Regions from separate parts of the Homo sapiens genome. Here regions 1 and 2 are each linked to region 3. The links are contacts of gene promoters, found by promoter capture Hi-C in human tissues and cell types (Jung and others, 2019). All regions are on one chromosome and are shown on one strand. The core of a region is centred on a gene start or on the middle of the fragment in contact, and the rest is flanking DNA. Distances in the headings are between cores, read along the strand shown.

What was found. Contacts are between HindIII fragments. The study calls those that stand out against the background at their distance.
Region 1: a fragment that was not itself captured here is called in contact with the fragment with the promoter of TNC in region 3 in 2 of the 25 tissues and cell types used here (dorsolateral prefrontal cortex and mesenchymal stem cells).
Region 2: a fragment that was not itself captured here is called in contact with the fragment with the promoter of TNC in region 3 in 4 of the 25 tissues and cell types used here (IMR-90 fibroblasts, hippocampus, lymphoblastoid cells and 1 more).

The regions. Positions count from the first base shown.
Region 1 is chr9:115,479,665-115,483,248 of GRCh38, reverse strand. No RefSeq gene overlaps it. Among named protein-coding and RNA genes, the nearest start is that of DELEC1, 340 kb to the right of the region's middle. The HindIII fragment of the contact is 4,934 bases long and covers 1-3,584 here.
Region 2 is chr9:115,394,204-115,397,749 of GRCh38, reverse strand. All of the region lies in intron 5 of DELEC1 (deleted in esophageal cancer 1), which reads right to left. Among named protein-coding and RNA genes, the nearest start is that of DELEC1, 250 kb to the right of the region's middle. The HindIII fragment of the contact is 5,994 bases long and covers 1-3,546 here.
Region 3 is chr9:115,116,497-115,119,982 of GRCh38, reverse strand. It overlaps TNC (tenascin C), which reads left to right and starts at 1,826. Exons shown (of 28, transcript NM_002160.4): 1 at 1,826-2,001. All of the region lies in intron 2 of LOC124902255 (a long non-coding RNA gene), which reads right to left. It overlaps LOC101928748 (a long non-coding RNA gene), which reads left to right. Exons shown (of 6, transcript NR_110950.1): 6 at 275-444. RefSeq lists an enhancer at 728-1,547. The HindIII fragment of the contact is 7,931 bases long and covers 1-3,486 here.

The DNA.
Region 1 (3,584 bases), core at 163-2,662, 360 kb before region 3:
AAAAGTAAGGCCTATTTTCTGGGAAAAATAATTAAAAATATATGGACAGAAACCCTAAAGCAGCCCCCAAAATGAACTGGGTTATATTACATATTTGCCTATGTAGTTATATTTAACGGGGTTCTGTTTTTATTTGTTTGATGTATTGCCTAGTGTCCTTTCATTTTCATCTGAAGGACTCTCTTTAGCATTTCTTGTAGGGAAGATCTACTAGCAACAACTTCCCTTAGCTTTTGTCAATCTGAAAATGTGTTAATTTCTCCTTTATTATTAAAAGGTAGTTTTTTGCTGGATATGTTTTCTTTTTCCTTTTAACCCTGTAAATATGTCATCTCATTGCTTTCTGGCCTCCATGGTTTCAGCTGAGATACAATCTATTAATCGTACTCGGTATCCCTTGTAAATGATGAGTTACTTCTTTCTTGCTGCTTTCAATATTCTCCCATTGTCTTTCTCTTTTGATAGTTTATAATGTTTTTTGGTATGAATTTCTTTGTGTTTATACTCTTGGAGTTTGTTGAACTTCTTAGATGTATAGATTTATTTATCAAATTTGGGAAGTTTTGGGGCCATTTTTTAAAAATATATATATATATTTATTCCTTTTTCTTTCCTCTCCTTCCAGCATTCCCATTATGTATATATTGGTCCACTTGATGGTGTCCCACAGGTCTCCACAAAATATTTAAAACATTCTCCCCTCTTTAATAATGCTTTTATATGAGGTGAATCTTTTCAGGGATTCACAAAATGGCTGAGATTTGTTTCTGTAACCAAGTATGCAGCAAGATTCCACACATGGAGATGAAGAAGTGACAGACAGTAGAATATTAATCTTCAGGCATTAGCAGAAACTGTGGCGAAAGCTTGGGGATTTCACAGGCTATGGAATTGTCAGAGAACTCATCTCAAGTCCTCTGGTACTCTGGAGAACAGAGTTATCTTTTCTGATACTTGAGTGACATCAGTATTGCAAGTGTCTGACACATGGTAGATGCTAAAAACATTTTTTTTTATGTTGAGCAAATAAATCAGAACCAGAAAAAAAGTGACTCAGTAAAGTGGATAGAAGATGGGTTGACAAAGGAGAAGAGAATCTCAGCTCTGCTGAAGACTACCATTAAGATAGTTTATTAAAAATAACTGGAGTCCAAGCATAATTTCCACAGCCCCAGAATAAGTCTGGGTGAAAAGGGCTGAACTGCATGAGGTGATAACAGTCAGACAAATGCCCATTCATCATCTGTTTTTCTTCTATGTATTCTGCCCCATCTTCCTTACCACAATCCTGTCTGTTTTTTTGTTGACAGCTTTATTCTTTGTCTGTATTCTCGATGTGCCAGAAGGATAGATACTCTCAGTGAGGACTCTTTCATTAGCAAGCATAAAATGACTGAGGTTATTCTAGGCTAGGCCATGCGCTTAATACTGGGAATTCAGACATGATTGGGACATAGTCCATACCATACAGGAAACTAAATCTATAGTGGGGTGGTGGGGTGAGGAGGTTCTCATAAGTACACAAATATAATCTCATAAGTACACAATTATAATCCTATGTTGAAGGATTTTAAAAAGTAATGTATTAATTATTTAAATCTTTATTGAGCACCCACAGGGATCCAGAATCTGCCCTAGGATGAAAAAGTCACTGTAGAAAAACACAACTATAATCCCTGCATACATGGAGATTTCTTGCTTTGTGGTCATGGAGGGGTTGGGGAGGACCATACAAAAATCAAAGTGTGTTGAGGACTATGAAGGAATTTGATTTTGTGATATTCTGACTAGAGAGCAGCATTAGTCTGATGGAGAAAAAAAACTACTTAATGTAGCTCTTAATGTAGCTATATTAAGCCAAACTTCAAATGAAATCTTAGTAGAAGATTGATAAAGTACTTGCATTTGTGTTTACAAGGAAATTCAATTCTATTATTTACTGTTTACAAAACAGCATAAGTTCCTTTTCAAACAATATCAGCACCATTATTTTCATTTGATTAGCACAGCTAACACAGTAGGGTAGTTTCACTGTGAAAGCTTAATTCTTAAATAATTTTTCTTTTCATTTATAATTATTATTTTAAACCTCACCTTTCTCAGCTGGAAATTAAAAACAGGTCAATGACTACCCACCTCACAGTATTGTTTATGAGTTCAAATGCATGAGATGAAACATACAAGAGAACACATAGAAGTGGTATATAATAGTTTTCAATAAATTAGAGTTAAATCTAAATCATAAGCAGGGTCAACTATGTGTTAGAAATTATAACTGCTAGATCTTAGTCCCCAGAGATATCTAAACAGAAGTAGAATATGATTCCATATCAAAAATACTGCAGAAGAGATTTCTAAGTTGGGTTGAGCCACTAGATTATAAATTTCAAAGAAAGGATTCACCTAACTTTTCTCTTACATGATTTCCAGGACCCAGTTAGGTGTCTGTTATACTGTAGAAGTAATGGAGTAATGGTTAATTTCTTGTGTCAGCTTTAGTTGTTTTTTGTTGTTGTTGTTGTTGTTGTTTTGTTTTGTTTTTGTTTTTTTTTTTTTTTGAGACGGAGTTTCTCTCTTGTTGCCCAGACTGGAGTGCAATGACGCAGTCTCGGCTCACTGTAACCTCTACCTCCCAGGTTCCAACTATTCTCTTGCCTCAGCCTCCTGAGTAGCTGGGATTACAGGTACCTGCCACCACACCCAGCTAATTTTTGTATTTTTAGTAGAGACGGGGTTTCACCATGTTGGCCAGACTGGTCTCGAACCCCTGACCTTGTCATCAGCCAGCCTTGGCTTCTGGGATTACAGAAGCCGTGAGCCACCGCCCCCCAGCCTCTTGTGTCAACTTTATTGGGCCATGGGTTGGCCAGACATTTGGTCAAATATTATTCTGGGTGTGTCTGTGAGAATCTTTCTCTTTGAAATTAACATTTGAATTGGCAGAATGTGTAAAGAAGATTGCCCTCCCTAATGTGGGTAGCCCTAATCCAATCAGTTGAAGACCTGATTAGAACAAAAAGACTAAGGGAATTTCTCTTACCTGACTGCCTTCAGCTAAGAGCTATTCAATCTAATATTGGCTCATCTTTGTTCTCAAGCCTGCCAGCTTTCAGACTGGAATTTACAATATCAGCTCTAGTGGTTCTAGACCTTCAGAGTCGGATTGGGACTACTAGACCATTAACCTTCTTGGGTTTCCAGCTTGCTGACTGATAATCTAGGGACTTCTCAGCCTTCATAATCACAGGAGCCAACACTTTATAATAAGTCCTTTTAGATAGATTAGATATAGATACAGATATAGATTAGATACTATTGATTCTCTTTCTCTGAAAACCCTAGCAAATACGGTAAGCAATAAATTATTAGTAGAATGAATTAAAGTCTTCAATAATTTTTAATTTGATGTGATTGGCTTTCCTACCTCTTATTACTCTAAATTATTTTGTATTTTTCTTGAGCTAGCATTTTACTCTTTTCAAGACAAAATAAATGATTCAATTGTTCTGAAATCAACAGTTTTTGGTGTACGGATCTCCACTTCTTTTTTTTTAATGTTGTGCATAACTATCCTTTCAGAGAAC
Region 2 (3,546 bases), core at 213-2,712, 280 kb before region 3:
TCTCTTCTCTTGCTTTGTCCTCTGCCTGGAAAGCTCTTTCCCAGATTCCTCTCTGGAGCTTATTCAAACTCAAATTTACCTTTTCAATGAGGACTACCATAGTCATCCTACTTAAAACTGTAATTGTCCTTCTACCTAACACTTCTGATCTCCTTTGCCCTCCTCTCTTTCTTCCAGATCACTTAGCACCTTTTATCTAGTATTTAAACTGGTATTGTGATTATCGTCCGTTGTCTGTGCCCACTTCGCCTACACAATAAACACTCTTTAAGTAGAAAGCCGTGCTGCGCAAGGTGATGGCTGACAATGGAAAGGGAGACATTATACATATTTTATTCTATATCTTACTGCAGAGGCAAATGTTTGTGTCTTTCTTGTTCTGTGACGTAACCTGAGTACCTAGAGTAGGGCTTGTAACGTAGCAGGTGCTCTATTCATCCTTGCTAAAGGAATGAATGAATGAGTTAGAATATATGTGACTGAATGGAATGAATGGACCCAGGACAAGGCCCTGAGACTTTGTCAATTTTTTCAAAACAGGTTTAAATCCTGTACTTTGCACTTAATAGCTGCGGACCTTGGTAGATTCATTTTGCATAGGCAATGTTCTGTTTTCTCTTCTGCAAAATGAGGGTTTTCACCATAACTATTATATCTACCTCTTAAATTCACTGTAAACATTGAAACATTGAATACATCTTATACAAAGGGAAATAACTTTAACAACAGAGGCACTAATCAGTGTTATGTATCTAAGGGTATGGATTGCTTACTCTGCTTCTTGCATGGGGAATATGTATTGCTCTGGTGTGATATCTGGTTGAAGACTGGTAAGGAATCCCTGGGATAATTCCCTGAAAGCCTGCTGTCTACCACTGCTTGCTTGGCAACTTCTGATAAATAATAAGACTACATCCAGTTGGTTTCATAGACAGGCCCTAGGAGGAGTGTTCAGGGCTCTTTCTGAGGCAGCCAAGGCAAGTAGAGGCACACCAGGCCGCGGTTGTTGTTGCACTTGCTGGGACTTTCTGTTGAAAGAACTATCTCCCCTCTGGTTAGAAAACAAAGAATTCAAAGGCAATCAGACATCTCTGCCTACCACAACCCTTCATGCAATCAGGTTGAACTGCCAGGCCAAACCCTGTCTGGAATGAAAAGAAATAAGAGATGGTTATCCTTAATGCCCTATTATGCCTAAGAACCCTTTGCTTTCTTCACTCTTGGGTTTCATATGGGCTCCAGGAGGTGGCATTAAAGAGTGAAGCTTTATCTATTCTCTGTTAGTGTTTGTGTTTTATCCATTCTCTGCACTTGTGTCCCCTGGAGGAAAACAAAATTACTCCAACTCCACCCTGGAACTTTAATGTCAACTCTTCACTGGGGAGCTACAGAAAAGGATATTGGTGAAAAGTATGTGGCTACTTGCCATGAACAGATAAGGATTGTCTGTAACTGAACAGATAAGGGTTGTCTGTAGCTACTTAAAACTGAATGACTGCCTACAAATGCTTGAACAATTTATTCTTTCAAACAAAATGATTTTCTCTACATCATTCTATGAGTACTACTTATCTTTTTATGTGAAAAACATTATCATGGTCATGAAGAAACTAAACCACATCCTGCCTGAGTGATCATCTACAGTTTCATTTATAACCTTGAAATTTAGAAAATTTTCCTGAGCAAACAGACCTTCCTCAAATTCCCACTTTTACTATGATTTTTATCTATGGTCTACTCACCTTTTTAAAACCCATAATAAGAAGCATTTGCTCTTGCAATCTGCTCTGATTAAGGAGAGTTTAGAAGTCCTATGGGAAGTTTCAGAAAGGAGTTCCCAGAGGCTATTTACAAACCTCATGGAATCTAAACACTTCATTGAATAGGAAAGTTGGCATCTTGCCTTCTAATGGAAGTAAGATAAACATGGCCAGGTGGAAGGGAAGCTGCCCTCCAAGACCAAGTTCTAGCCTGAAGAGCCCTTTAGCTCATCCAAAACTCTGAGAACATCTTAAACGGAAGACTCTCAAAGAAATAAATGTTCCCATCTGTGACTGCCTCATTCCTGGCTCCTCCTTGGAACCCCTTAACTTGCCACTGAAAACCCTGGGGAGTTATATCTTGAGCTGTGGACAAACTGATTTCAGGGGCTTTCCTTGTTACCACAGTGATATCTGGGCAACAATAAGCAATTTACCAAAGGACATGCCCTTTTTTTTCCTGTTATCTTCACCCCTCTGTTTTCCCAAACTGAACTGCTCTGTGGGAACTCACAGACATCCCCTCAGATCACTCTCTCAGCTCCCTCTAGCAATGTCCCGCTCAAGCTCACAAACCCACTCCTTCTCTCTGTGCTTCTGACCTGATAAGACCTTATTATAGCTCCTATGCATTGATTTCTACTAAGGTCAGGCCCTGTGCTTGGAGACTTACATACACAGAATCAATTAATCCTCATATACCTTTGGGGTATTTTCCAATATGATTACTATTTAACACAGGAGGTAGCTGAGAATTAAAAAGTTTAAGAGACCTATCAGAGATTGCACAGCAAGGAAGTGACAGAGATTGTTAATAATGAATGTTTTTCCTCCTTATCTCTTCTCTTTGAGCTTCCTTGAACATCTATTTCATCAGTTCTTGGAAAACACCGATGGACATGCAATGTCACAGCAGTTGTGTGACTATGAGCAACTCCTTCTTTCTCTCTGAATCTGTTTCCCCTTATGTCAAATAATATGATGGGGTTAAGCTTTGTCTATGCCCCAGTGTCCTGGGATTCCAGGGATGCACATGATGGTCGTTGAAGCTGAAACACCCCAATTTGAAAACTCTCACATATTTGATCTCACTAAGCCTACTGAGAAGTTACCAGCTGGCAATGCTATATGGCTCAGAAAGAGGAGAAATTGGGAACATTTCAGTCTAGAGGTCAAGAGAAATAAGACCAGATGCAGAGTTTGGTCACTAAACATTCTTCTGATTTTTGGTAAGATAAAAAAGATCATTAGGTCCTCCAATAATTGTAGTATAGTCAAGCATTGGGGAGATTCCAGTTCACATTCTGACTCTGTCACTAGGTTATTGTATGGTCTTGGGTGAGTCACCAAAATTCTTGGGAATCTGTTTTCCCATCTATAAAGTAGAGACGCTAATAATCATGGTTCCCTCCCATGATGGTTGAAAGGAACAAATTGGCCCCACAGGTATGATTAATCTCTGACTAGCCCATCTCAGCCTATGCATGCAAAAGTTCACAACTAAATATCCAATACGCTCCCTTCTTTTCAGCCACAGCGAGTTGACCTCTTATGGACATAACTCTAGACAACAAAAATAGTCAGAAAAGGATGGGAGGTGATTGGCTTTCTTCCCCCAACTGCCTGACCATTAATGGAATTGAGCAAGAACAGAATTTCTCAACCCTTGCACTTGCTCTTCTGAGCCAGCAAGACCAAGGAAACGATGCCCATTGAAAACACTAATTTTGTTTCTTAGCCAGTGATTTCAAATACGTATTTGATCTTGAGCTTCTCCATTTTTAGA
Region 3 (3,486 bases), core at 577-3,076:
AGAGATTAACTCAGTAGGAACCACTCACTGCTGGTTGAGACACAGCTTCATGCTACTGAAATATCCTTTGGCTAAAGCACAGAATTTAAAACTTCCCAAACAACCAACATTTGAATCAGCCAAAATGGATCAAAAGTTCAAATGAGCGGTTTTATGACATGACTATTTATGGGCTTTCTTGCTGTCTGGGAGGGTCACTTTAGCAGAGAATCCTAAAATACTACAGCCAAAGCAACCGTAGGATGACCTAATCGTGTCTTGCTTTTTTTTTCAGATGGGGAAACTGAGGCCCACAGCAACAATAATAACTGTGGGGATGATATCATTTAATATTGAAAATAAGTGGATAATTGAGACCTCCATTATTAGTAGTTAATTTTTAAAAATCAAAGATCTCTCCTAATTAGCTTTATGGAGCAAATAAATATATTTTCCATATTCAAATATGGCTGTGATTTCTACACAAATGGTGTTAACAATCTAATACAGCATAAAACATTGTTTAAATATCATCATACCCTATTCCTAAACAGTAACGTGTAATAGATCTCTGGAGCCCAGTGTTGTAATATAAACACTTCCCAGGTGTATTCCCTTGGTAAAGTTTCATTACTTCTCTAAACGTCAGTTTTCTTGTGTAAAAAAGAGACACTTGTGTCTATCCTACTTACTGGTTACAAGGATATAATAAAAATAGTGAACAAAAATAGTGTTCATAAAGTACCCTGCACAGCACCTGATTATAGACTTAATAAGGGAGGGCTCAATGGTAGTTGCGTTTTGAATTACATTTAATGCTTCATTTTACTTCACTGTCACAAACTACTATGCTCTGCGGCAGGCTCAGAAGTCTCTAGGCACGGGTGAAGTGCTACTTCTCCACTCCCTTAAATGCCCCTGTATGCCCTGAGGATACTCAATGCATGCTAACCACCAAACGAACGGATGACTCAGAGCTTGGAGGAAATCCACGGCAGGCTGGAAAGCAAAGGCGCAGCTTATGGCTCAAGGATTAGGTTGTTACCTTTTTAAATTATTGCTTTTCTTTAAAGAAAGGGCTGTGGGGGACGCCTTTCAGCACTAAGAGAAAACCTCAGAAATCCTTCCCCCTGGAGACCCAGCTGAGAAGACCACACCAGGCACAGGGCATGAACAATGTCAAAAAGCTACTGCCCTGCAGGACACTGGGGCTGGAACAAAGATGCCTCCCAGCAGCTGGGCAAGGCTGGCTCCCACACAAGAAAAGCAGGGCTGATGTGAGCGTCCCGCACGATCCCCACCTGCTGAGACCTAATCCTGGGTTATCTCTCCGCTGGCCCAGAGAAACCTGAAACCCCCCAGGCTTTTGAAGGGCTTTATCTCCTCTTTCCAGGAACTGGGCTCAGTCCCTGTACTCGCTCCGAGGTGCCACTGAGCAGCTGCTGCCCAGAGCCCAGGCGAGCCCTGGTCCCATTTCCAGCTTGACCAAGTACAAGAGGGGAGCCAGGGCTGCGGATCCTACTCCCTCTTGCTCCCCAGGCATCCGTCTCACAATTAGAAAACCCGTGTGGGGAGCAAAGCAAAAATCACATTTCACTAACAGCTACTCGGGGTCGGGGGCGGGCAGGCGGGAATTCCTACTTTCGCCATAAATTGTATGCAAATGGGTTCCTTCCCTGGCCGAGAGCCAGGAGTGAGTGCGTCTTTCATGAGCTAACCCTGTTCCGCTGGGAGGGCTGTTCCTTTAATTCGCCAACTGAAAAAGTGGGAAAGGATGTCTGGAGGCGAGGCGTCCCATTACAGAGGAAGGAGCTCGCTATATAAGCCAGCCAAAGTTGGCTGCACCGGCCACAGCCTGCCTACTGTCACCCGCCTCTCCCGCGCGCAGATACACGCCCCCGCCTCCGTGGGCACAAAGGCAGCGCTGCTGGGGAACTCGGGGGAACGCGCACGTGGGAACCGCCGCAGCTCCACACTCCAGGTACTTCTTCCAAGGACCTAGGTCTCTCGCCCATCGGAAAGGTAAGTCTGTTTTGCCCTCATCACTAGAGATCCTTATGATGTAAGGATTGCATTCCTGGTACCAAATGAGTTGTGATTTTATATTATAATTACAAAACATATGGGGTTTTTTTTTCCACCGCTGGAAAAAAAAGGAGTGTGTATTGGTTATATCAGATGCACCTTGACTTTTCTGGTCTTGTAATTTTGTTTGTTTTAACTTTATGAATAGTCAGACTTGGAAGGAACTTTTCGTAAAGTTGTTATCTTCTGCTGTTCTGCAGAGGAAAAGTAAAAATTTTCTCTTCAACTGCTCTCCTACTTCTAGTCTGGCTGATTCACCTGTATATATCTTTTATTTTGAGGGTTAGGGCAGTAGAGTTTTAAGGCAGACTTTGCTCATAGCCTGCCCCTGGGATGGGTTAGAGGGAGTTTGATAGAGGAGTGCAGGGAGAATATAAAAGTTTATATCTAAACAGCACTTACATAAAGTTTACAAAGAGTTTTGTACCCATTCCCTCATTTGGTCCTCAAAATATTCACCCTGGAAATGAGAGCTGGGGGACAGAAGAGAGGAGGTGGCTCCTGGGCCAGATGAATAACTGACAGGCAGCTAGAGAGTGGTGGAGAACAGCTTTACTGGGGTGCCTAGAGCCAGCAGCGTCCCACATGTCTCTAGAATCACCTCCTCCTCCTCACCTCTCATCACAGAAAGATCTGAGCAACAACATCCCCCAGGTATGGGAACCCTGCTGCCCCTGGTGTACTTTGGAAAGAACACAGGGGTTCTTCTCACCCATCAGTGTTGTAAGAGGAATAAGAGCTTAGGTTTGAAGCCAGAGGTGTTTGGTATTCTCCCCACCACCATACATATGACCCTGAGAAAGATACATCACTTCCTTAATCCTCAGTTTTCACATCTCTAAAATGGGGACAATAGCGTCTGCTGTCGTTTTGAGGAGAAAATGAGGTATAGAAAGATCAGCAATGACTGCTTAATAACTGGAAGTTTGGATAATCATTGTCATTGCCAAAAACTGCCATCACTCTGGAAGTTAAAAGAGGCATTGAGCCAGTCTTGGATTGTTTCTTGTGTGTTGTTCCTCAGCCCGCCCCCAGCCCCCGCTTTTTATCTCACCCAATCTGAGGGTGTCTCACTAGGCTGGCAGGTCTGAGACTTGGCTGTATTTTACAAGCAGGAGGTTGTGTTGGCACAGGTTGGAGAAAAGGTAGTAGCCCGGGGCTGGAAGTTAATGTCAAATTTTGATTCCAGAATGTCAGGAGGTTTTGAGTTTAGGCATCTGCAGATTCTAAAGCTGACAGCTATGAAGTACGATGCTGTTGGAAACTCTTTGGAAAAGCTTTCTGTCCGGAGGGAGGGCAGGACAGGGAGCACCACTTGAAGAATGAATGCCTCTTTTTCATGTTTTTGTAGACTTTTTCCCCCATTTTTACAGAGCTTTCCCATATGTGTTTTAGAAAGGAAAACTACTATCCATCCCAGCC